2 separate regions of the Homo sapiens genome follow, and region 1 is linked to region 2. Evidence: promoter capture Hi-C in human tissues and cell types (Jung and others, 2019). All regions are on one chromosome and are shown on one strand. Each heading gives the region's core, a stretch centred on a gene start or on the middle of the fragment in contact. The rest is flanking DNA. Distances are from core to core; before and after follow the strand shown. Region 1 overlaps KATNA1 (katanin catalytic subunit A1). Region 2 holds the start of NUP43 (nucleoporin 43).

Region 1 (5,235 bases), core at 1,839-4,338, 140 kb after region 2:
GGCTGAAGTGCAGTGGCACGATCTCAGCTTACTGCAACTTGTGCCTCCGGGGTTCAAGTGATTCTCCTGCCTCAGCCTCCCGAGTAGCTAGGATTATAGGTGCCCATGACCATGCCCAGCTAATTTTTGTATTTTTAGTAGAGACGGGGTTTCACTGTGTTGGCCAGGCTGGTCTCAAACTCCTGACTTCGTGACCCACCCACCTCGGCCTCCCAAAATGCTGGGATTACAGGCCTGAGCCACCATGCCTGGCCGAGACAGGATCTTATTTTATTGCCCAAGCTGGTTCTTGAAGTCTTGAGCTCAAGCAGTCTTGCCACCTTGGCCTCCCAAAGTGCTAAGATTATAGGCGTGGGCCACCACACCTGGCCTGAGTTTTTTTCTTGAAAAAATACTTTTTTTTTTTCCTTAAAAAATACTATGCTACTTCCTCTGGCTTGCTTTTCTGAGAAGAAATCTGCTTTCATCTGAATTGTTTTTCCCTATAAGCAAGGTGTTGATATTCTTTCATTGCTTTCAATTTTTTCTGTGTCTTTGGTTTTCAGAAATTAAAGTATAATGTGTGTTGGCATGGAGTCTTTGGGGTGTTCTATTTGTTTCTGAGGCTATTTTTCTTCATAATCTTTCAAGTACATTCATAATTATTGAAGCATGTAAAAGGCTTTAAAATCTGTCAGGAAACTAACATCACTGTCATTTTGGTCTTGGCATCTGTTCATTGTCTCTTTACATTTAATTTGAGATTTTCATGGTTCTTGGTATGAGGAATTTTCTGTTGAAACCTGGACATTTTCATATTATATCATGAGACTCTAGATCTTATTTAAACCTTCTGTTTAGCTGATTTTTCCTAACATTGCTCTGGCAGAGAGATTGGGGTGCCACCGCTGCCAGGTGGGGATGGAAGTTCAGGTTCCCCAGCCAGCCTCTGTCGGCACCTGCCTAGGGGCAGAGGCCTTCTCATTACTGCTGAGCTGCGGTGGAAGTTCTCCACACGCTCTCCAGGGACACTGTGGTTGGGGAGTGGAAGTCTAGGTTCCCTCTATGATGTCCAGTGACTGTGGCGGGGAGGGGTGGGGGAGAGAACATGCAGGGGCTCTTGTTCATTTCATTTTTGGGAATGAAAGTTTCAGCTTCTTATTTAGCCTCTGATTCTACCCTGGTGGGGGTTTGAGGTAACTCACTGTAGGCTTCCAGAAGTAGAAAGTCCTAGGCCTTCCACCCTGCCTTTGCTGCCCTGGGTGGGGCCGGGGCCACAAGTCTTTGGTGGTGCTTGACTGGAGTAGAGTGTTACTGTCTAAAAGCTCTGTCTTGCTAGACTGCCCCTTCCTTGGTCCTTTGCCTAGAAAGAGCAAGCTTCTGTTGGGGTGTTTTTGTTTGTTCAAATTGGCGTATCCAGGTTGCCGGCTCTTCAGCCCCAAGTTTGGATATTTGAAAGAAAGAAAACCCAGGGAACTCACACCATGTTTGAGTTCCTTAGTGGCTCTGCTGGCTTCTTTGCACCTTTCAGAGTCCTCCTGTGTTTGTGGTATGTATAATACCCAAGGGTTTTAGCTCTGTTTAGCAGAAGAAATGCTGAAAAGTATGCTCCATCTTCCTGGAAATGAGAACCCAGCTGTCATTTTTAATTAACTCTTTTAATTGAGGTAATGGGTTTTGTATTTATAATTTTGCCAGCTTTAAAAGAACTAGTTTTTGTTTTTGTTTTTTTGAGACGGAGTCTCACTCTGTCGCCCAGGCTGGAGTGCAGTGGCCTGATCTTGGCTTACTGCAGCTTCTGCCTCCCAGGTTCAAGCGATTCTCCTGCCTCAGCCTCCCGAGCAGCTGGGATTACAGGTGTGAACCATCACACCTGGCTAATTTTTGTATTGTTAGTAGAGACGGGGTTTCATCATGTTGGCCAGGCTGGTCTCGAACTACTGACCTAAGGTGATCTGCCTGCCTCTGCCTCCCAAAGTGCTGGGATTACAGGCGTGAGCCACTGAGCCCAGCAAAAGAACTAGTTTTAAACCCAAGGACTTATGTCCTGATTAATCCGTCTATCTGAAACTTTATTTTGAGCATGAAAAAAGGAGTCTAGGTCCCTTTGAATCCCTCAACTGTTTTTTTCCACTTCCTACTGGTTACTGTTTTCACTTAGAACAAGTTATTGTTTGTTTTTATTTGAGATGGAGTCTTGTTCTGTTGCCCAGGCTGGACTGCAGTAGTGCAATCTCAGCTCAGTGTAACCTCCGCCTCCTGGGTTCAAGCGATTCTCCTCTCAGCCTCTTGAGTAGCTGGGACTACAGGCATGTACCACTATGCCCAGCTAATATTTTTGTATTTTTAGTAGAGAGGGGGTTTCACCATGTTGGCCAGCCTGATCTCGAACTCCTGGCCTCAACTGATCCACCCCCCTCAGCCTAAGTGCTAGAATTATAGGCATGAGCCACTGCACCTGGCCAGGAGCAAATTATTAGATAGATGTATATCTAAAAGAAATTGTACTACTTCAACTAATTAAGTAAAATCCTATTAAATATGTCAGCATTTGAAGTTCCACAGCTTTCTTTGGCTGTCCTATTACAACACTGTTTCTTTCTTCTGCCTACTTAAATTTGTTTTGCTTTGTCTGCGAACATTCCCTTAGTACTGTGTTCTATGGGAGAAAAGAAAGAGAAAGAGAAAATGCCTTATATTTGTATCTTCCCTGGCTTACAGTATATGTTCCTGATAGTCAGGTACAGTGTCCTTTTCCTGTTCTCCATAGCTGCTAACACAGAACAGATACTTGTTAAATATCTGTAAATGAGTAACAACTTTATAAATACTTTGAAGAAAAGATTATCTTCTTCTCTTTTAAATGTTACACAGTTCTGGCTGGGTGTGGTGGCTCACCCCTGTAATCCCAGCACTTTGGGAGGCTGAGGTGGGCAAATCACCTGAGGTCAGGAGTTCAAGACCAGCCTAGCTGACATGGTGAAACCCCATCTCTACTAAAAATATAAAAAGTTAGCCAGGCATGGTGGTACATGTCTGTAATCCCAGCTACTCGGAAGGCTGAGGCAGGAGAATTGCTTGAACCGGGGAAGCAGAGGTTGCAGTGAGCCAAGATCGTGCCACTGCACTCCAGCCTGGGCAACAAGAATGAAACTCCATCTCAAAAAAAAAAAAAAAAAAAGTTACACAGTTCCTTCCTTGAATCTTTTATGCTAATATTGGAGGCTCAATACACACATTGTGGAACTGATGCTTATTTGGCCATCTAGGTTAACATTTTGAATATCATAAATATTGGTTAAGTCTGGACATTAATAATGGCATTAGACAGCACCAGTTGGCAAAGGAATCATCATGTTACGTGCAAAAAAAATGTTATGGGAATTGGGTAACAATCTTAGTACGGCAGAAAAAATGTTTATTTACCCTAATGCAGGGCTTCATAAATTTTCTTGGCCTATAATATTCATAAGTATCTTAGTAATTTTTATATAGCATCTCTAGGCCAGGATACCCATCCACTTATGAAAAATACCTATCCATTTATGAAGAAGTTAGGTTCAAACAGTTTATGTTCTAGCAGTTTAACACCTATTGGGCCCTGTTACACAGTTTCTCAAACCCTGCAGTCAGAACGGACATTCTACCCTCATTCCTCTTCCACATTGATTTTCTCTCTGTACATCTTATCACAGCAACTGCCCAAAACCCAGCTTCACAAAAATATGGTATTATTCAGGCCGGACACAGTGGCTCACACCTGTAATCCCAGCACTTTGGGAGGCCGAGGTGGGCGGATCACTTGAGGTCAGCAGTTCAAGACTAGCATGGCCAACGTGCTGAAACCCCATCTCCACTAAAAATAATTAGCCGGGCGTGGTGGTGCACACCTGTCATCCTACTCAGAAGGCTGAGACAGGAGAATTGCTTGAACCCAGGAGGTGGAGGTTGCAATGAGCCAAGATCACACTACTACACTCTAGCCTGGGCGACAGAGTGAGACTCTAGCTCAAAAATAAATAAATAAATAAATAAATAAAGCATTATTGAAGAGGAGTATAGCAGTCTTATGTAGGAATCGTGAACTACCTCTAGCTAGTAGTTCACACAGTGTTCAACAGATGTTGCTGTGTTTCTTTCAAAAATTTAAACTATCCCACAATACCTCGTGAGTTTGCCATTGTGTCCTGGGTATTGAGTACATAGTTTGGGAACCGTGGCCCTAATGACTGTCATCACAGAGGATGAGAGGAATCCCATGTAAGGACTGAGATGTGTCTTTTGGAGGGTAGTGGGAATAATGAAAAGGGATATTTTTAGGAGCATTGATGAGGGACAAGTAGGTGTTTAAAGATTGAGCCATAGTCTTGGCTAAATAAGCCATCTGTCTTTAATCTTATCTCCTCTAAAGGATTGAAATACATTTTGTGTATATCTGATATTCACTTGCGACCACATTTATCTCAGTATTAATTTTTTTATGCTAGCCAGTTCATTTGCATGGTCATTTTTATTTTTCTTTGATACTTTTGATGTATCAAACCAATGTTGATGTAGAAGGATGACTTAGAGTCTTTGGTCCTATCCTTGTTATTGTATTATTATTATTAGCCTTTTTTTTTTTTGAGTTGGTGTCTCGGTCTGTCACCCAGGCTGGAGTGCAGTAGCATGATCTTGGCTCACTGCAAGCTCTGCCTCCCGGGTTCACACTGTTCTCCTGCCTCAGCCTCCCGAGTAGCTGGGACTACAGGTGCCGCCACCATGCCTGGCTAATTTTTTGTATTTTTAGTAGAGATGGGGTTTCACCCTGTTAGCCAGGATGGTCTCGATTTCCTGACCTCGTGATCCACCCATCTTGGCCTCCCAAAGTGCTGGGATTACAGGTGTGAGCCACTGCGCCTGGCCAAATGATGTATTAGCTTTTTAAAGGACGTCACTTGAGTCCAATCTGTGTTTCCGACTCACAGAAACAAAATAAATGAATCAAAAGCGCTTGTTTTTTTCTCTTCATGTAGAACAAATCACCTGCTGCAGTAACAGAACCAGAGACAAATAAATTTGATAGTACCGGATATGATAAAGACTTAGTAGAAGCTTTGGAAAGAGATATAATTTCCCAGAATCCCAATGTTCGATGGTAAGTTATATCACAACCAAATAATTGGGTGCTGGTGATGCTATTCGGAATGGAAAATGGAGCAAATGTGAGCATGTACTGAAGAGCAGAGCTTGAGGACAGAACCGGAGTATGTGCAG
Region 2 (5,225 bases), core at 327-2,826:
TGACCTCGTGATCTGCCTGCCTTGGCCTCCCAAAGTGCTGGGATTACAGGCGTGAGCCACCGTGCCTGGCCAAAACAGTGTTCTTTACTTCAATATTAAACATGAATAAAATTGTTGATTTGGGACTGTAACCCACTTAATATTTTCCATTTCATCTTTCTACAGTTTCTTGATGATCTTCCATTTGGAGAAAAGAAAAAAGTCAAATCCTTGATAGGAAACTGGTAACTCTAAAGCTGACCCAGATGGATTGCATTTACATGCAGTGCTTCCGTAAACTGTCCCTGTGAAGTAGGACTACCAATATCACATAAAAACAACAGTAGCATAATGGCCCTTTTTAAAGAAATAACCAACATACAGTTATGAATACCTATAGTGTAAAAGAGCTTCATTTTTTAGTTGAATAAGTCATATCTCTTGTATTCAGTAGGATTTACATTCTAATGGGGGAGGAATATGCATCTAAAGAAAACTAACATAAGATATATCCAAAATATATGTCATTAGTGGTCTAGATATCAAATGCTAGCTCACGCCTGTAATCCCAGCACTTTGGGAGGACAAGGCAGTTGGATCACCTGAGGTCAAGAGTTCGAGACCAGCCTGGCCAATATGGTGAAATCCCGTCTCTCCAAAAAAAAAAAAAAAAAATTAGCCAGGCATGGTGGCGCACACCTGTAGTCCCAGCTACCCTGGAAGCTGAGGTGGGAGAATCACTTGAACCTGGGAGGCGGAGGCAGAGGTTGCAGTGAGCTGAGATTGTACCACTGCACTCCAGCTTGGGCCACAGAGACCCTGTCTTAAAAAAGAAAAAAAATGGTGTTGATTTAGATCAACATTGGCTGGGGTCGTCAGGAAATGGTAAAGGAAAGAACAGATCCTTGAAGGATAGGCAGGATTCTGAGGAGTAAAGAGGAAGGGAAGAATATTATAGGTGTAACCAAAAGCACAGAAGGAACCTAGAAAACTGATTCCTGGGCCGTTGACAATAGGTATCACAAACTTCATTCTTAATCATGCACGTAATTGAATTGATCAAAGCTAGGCAATTGGCATCAAAACTAAAACTGGAGTCTTTCAGAATTCCAACTCCAGGCTCTGACAGTGTGTATTAACTTTGAAGCAAAGTATTTGTTTGGGAGACAAGAGGGAGAGGTTTGGGATAGTAGGTTGGCACTTTATTCGAGGTACTTCCACGAGTATTTAAGGATTTTTGAATCGTTTTCTATGCGCAGTGACCTGCAACTGCTTAGGTGTGGTTTCAAGGTGGTTTCTACTGCATTGTTTTTGTTCTGTTTTTGCACTTAAATTTTACACTGCACAATTATTGAACACAAGAAAATACTGACATTGCAGATTAGGAGCAAGTCCTACTGCTCAAAGGCCAAAGCGCTCTTGCCTTTGCTCAGAGCTGCTCTGTGAGATGGGTGGGCCTCTCAGTCTAGGTACTGACTGTGCCCACACTGGCTATCGACGAGAATTGACTCTCTGCAGCCACCGTCTCCGTCCTAAAGTCCCATCCAATCAGGGTTCCGCGGGAAGAGGCGGTGCTGAGAGGCGCGTACTGTGCTTGCTTTTTGCAGTACCTGCTGCGGCCGCTTTCGGCATGGAGGAAATTTATGCGAAGTTTGTGTCCCAGAAAATCAGCAAAACCCGCTGGCGACCGCTGCCTCCGGGAAGTTTACAGACCGCGGAGACGTTCGCTACAGGATCTTGGGACAATGAGGTATCGCCGCTGATAGGGACGAGCCCCTACCTCCTCCCTCTCTCCGGTTGAGCTGACCCCTGGCCTTCCGCGCGCCAACTCCCACCTTCTGGTTCTTCTCGCACTTTTAGGTCCCCCGGACCCCTGTCTCAGGCGCGGTTGCTCCGTAGCTCAGAGCCGGTGATGGCATGCCTGAGCCTCGTATCTCGTTGTGTTTTAAACTCACCATACCATTTGAGATGTTTTGGAGCAACATTTCCGGACGGGAGCACAACTTTTATTTTCCGAGAGTTGACGTTTATGTCATCTCAAGACAAAACTTTCTGTTTTACAGGAAAATTATATTTCACTGTGGTCTATTGGAGATTTTGGAAACTTGGACTCTGATGGAGGGTTTGAAGGAGACCATCAGTTATTGTGTGATATCAGACACCATGGTGATGTAATGGATTTACAGGTAAATCTGTGTAGCATCCAAAAGCTAACTTTGAAAGTCCTGAGTAATACATTTAAACAAGCAGAGCATCATAAAAGTTGTCTGGTGTCACCCCTCGTTTACAGAAAACTGAGTGCTCTGTAAGTTATGATTTGCCCAACATCATTTAGCCATTTAGTGGCAGAAAAAGGACTGGGAAAGGGGATGTAGATTTAATCATACTTTTTTATTAATTGACTGTCGACTATGTGCTAAATACCGTTTGGGGAGCTTTACAAAAATTAATTATTGTTGCATGCCAGTGAATCAAGTATCGTTACTTTGTTTTACTAATGAGAAAATTGAGACTAATATATCTTGAGCATGTACTATGTGACAGATACTGTGCAGGGGGATAACATCATTTTGTTTTTTGAATTCTCATAACAACTCCCTAAGTAGAGATTAGTGCTCCCGTTTTAAAGATTTACCACGATTTAGTGAACTTAACTTGGCCAAAGTCTCAAAACCAGTAATGAGTGGTGGGGATGAAATTGAGTTTTCTTTTTTTTTTTTTTTTCCAAGATGGAGTCTCGCTCTGTCACCCAGGCTGGAGTACAGTGGCATGATCTGAGCTCACTACAACCTCCGCTTCCCGGGTTCAAGCGATTCTCCTGCCTCAGCCTCCCGGGTAGCTGGGACTACAGGCGCAGGCCACCATACCCGGCTAATTTTTTGTATTTTTAATAGAGACGGGGTTTCACCATATTAGCCACGATGGTCTCTATTTCCTGACCTGGTGATTTGCCTGCCTCGGCCTCCCAAAGTGCTGGGATTACAGGAGTGAGCCATGGCGCCCGGCCGAAATTAAGTTTTCAAATCCTGGTGTGGAGAGCCCCTGCATTTTCCATAGAAAGCTACCTAGCCCTGGTGCGCGCTTGTAATCCCAGCTACTCTGGAGTCTGAGGCAGGAGAATCGCTTGAACCCGGGCGCAGAGGTTGCAGTGAGCCGAGAGTGCGCCAGCTTGGGCAACAAGAGCGAAACTCTGTCTCAAAAAATAATAATAATAAATAAATAAATAAATAAATAAATAAAATAAAAAAGAAAGCTATCTAGCTCTAGGAAAGATACATTTTTTTTTTTTGGAGACGAAGTCTTATACTGTCACCCGAGCTGGAGTGCAGTGGCGAGAGCTCAGCTTACTGCAACTTCTGCCTCCTGGGTTCAAGCAATTCTCCTGCCTCAGCCTCCCGAGTAGCTGGGACAACAGGCACATGCCACCATGCCTGGCTAATTTTTGTATTTTTAGTAGAGATGGAGTTTCACCATGTTGGCCAGGCTGGTCTTGAACTCGTGACCTCGTGGTCCACCCGGCTTGGCCTCCCAAAGTGCTGGGATTACAGGTGTGAGCCACCATGCCCAGACGATATTTTCCTTTCCTTTTTTTTTTTTCTTTTTTATGACGAGTCTTGCTCTGTCACCCAGGCTGGAGTGCAGTGGCTCGATCTCGGCTCACTGCAACCCCACCTCGTGGGTTCAAGTGATTCTTCTGCCTCAGCCTCCTGAGTAGCTGGGAGTACAGGCACATGCCAGCACGCCCAGCTAATTTTTGTATTTTTAGTAGAGATGAGGTTTCAACGTATTGGCCAGGCTGGTCTCGAACTCCTGACCTCGTGATCCGCTTGCCTCAGCCTCCCAAAGTGCTGGGATTACAGGCGTCAGCCACCGTGCCTGGCTTTTCTTTTTTAAAATTTTTATTCTTTTTTTGAAACTGAGTCTTGCTCTGTCAACTAGGCTGGAATGCAGGGGCTCAATCTTGGCTCACTGCAACCTCCACTTCCCTACAACCCCAACTCATTTTTGTATTTTTGTAGAGACGAGGCCTCGCCATCTTGCGCAGGCTGGTCTTGAACTCCTGAGCTCAAGTGATCCGTCCACCTAGGCCTCCCAAAATGCTGGGATTACAGGCGTGAGCCACTGCACCCAGCCAGGAATAATATTTTCCTAAGGTTTTATTGTGTTGGTCCCAAATTAAATCAATTGTGGGTGAATGTGTCTAGGAAAAAATATTGTTTATTCATGAAAATACTTTGTATGGCAGTTTGGCCTTTCAGCTTCATTAACACATTTTATTTCCTTAGCACTCATGGCTCTTTGCTTTTTAAAATTGTTATAAGATTTGCTACTAATTGAGTTAAATAAACAAATGGACTTCCTCCCTGCTAATATTTCTGAATCTTTAACAAGCAGAAATTTTCTCTTTAGTTTTTTGACCAGGAAAGAATTGTCGCTGCTTCATCAACAGGATGTGTAACAGTTTTCCTTCACCATCCAAATAACCAGGTAAAGAACTTTAGTTTGAGAAGTGATTTTTTTTTTTTTTGAAATGGAGTTTTGCTCTTGTTGCCCGCGCACTGGAGTGCAGTGGCGCAGTCTCGGCTCACCGCAGCCTCCACCTTCTGAGTTCAAGTGATTCTCCTGCCTCAGCCTCCCAAGTAGCTGGGATTACAGGCACGTGCCACCACGCCCGGCTAATTTTATATTTTTAGTAGAGACGGGGTTTCTCCATGTTGGTCAGGCTGATCTCACCTGACCTCAGGTGATCAGCCCTCTTCGGCCTCCCAAAGTGCTGGGATTACAGGTGTGAGCCACCGCGCCCAGCCAAAGGTAACCTTTTCTAATAGACATGCCTAGTTAATATAAGTCCCAGTTCATGTTAAGGGTTTTTTTGAGTCATTTAGAAAAAGCTATAGAGATTAATATTTTATTTATTTTATTTTATTTTATTTATTTATTTTTTTTTTTGAGACAGAGTCTCTCTCTGTCACCCAGGCTGGAGTGCAGTGGTGCGATCTCTGCTCACTGCAACCTGCATCTCTCTGGTTCAAGCAATTCTCACACCTCAGCCTTTCAAGTAGCTGGGATTACAGGCGCGTGCCACCACACCTAGCAAATTTTTGTATTTTTAGTAGAGACGGGATTTTGCCATATTGGCCAGGCTGGTCTCGAACCCCTGATCTCAGATGATCTGCCTGCCTTGGCCTCCCAAAGTGCTAGGATTACAGGCATGAGCGACAGCCGTGGGCCAGATATGTATATTT

What was found. Contacts are between HindIII fragments. The study calls those that stand out against the background at their distance.
Region 1: a contact is called between a fragment that was not itself captured here and the fragment with the promoter of NUP43 in region 2, in 1 of the 25 tissues and cell types used here (psoas muscle).

Annotation. Positions count from the first base shown.
Region 1 is chr6:149,604,542-149,609,776 of GRCh38, reverse strand. It overlaps KATNA1 (katanin catalytic subunit A1), which reads left to right. Exons shown (of 11, transcript NM_007044.4): 5 at 4,995-5,116. Among named protein-coding and RNA genes, the nearest start is that of GINM1, 41 kb to the right of the region's middle. The HindIII fragment of the contact is 6,159 bases long and covers 9-5,235 here.
Region 2 is chr6:149,742,880-149,748,104 of GRCh38, reverse strand. NUP43 (nucleoporin 43) reads left to right here and starts at 1,576. Exons shown (of 8, transcript NM_198887.3): 1 at 1,576-1,729; 2 at 2,043-2,165; 3 at 4,390-4,467. The coding sequence starts at 1,610. RefSeq lists an enhancer at 1,207-1,266. The HindIII fragment of the contact is 10,037 bases long and covers 1-5,225 here.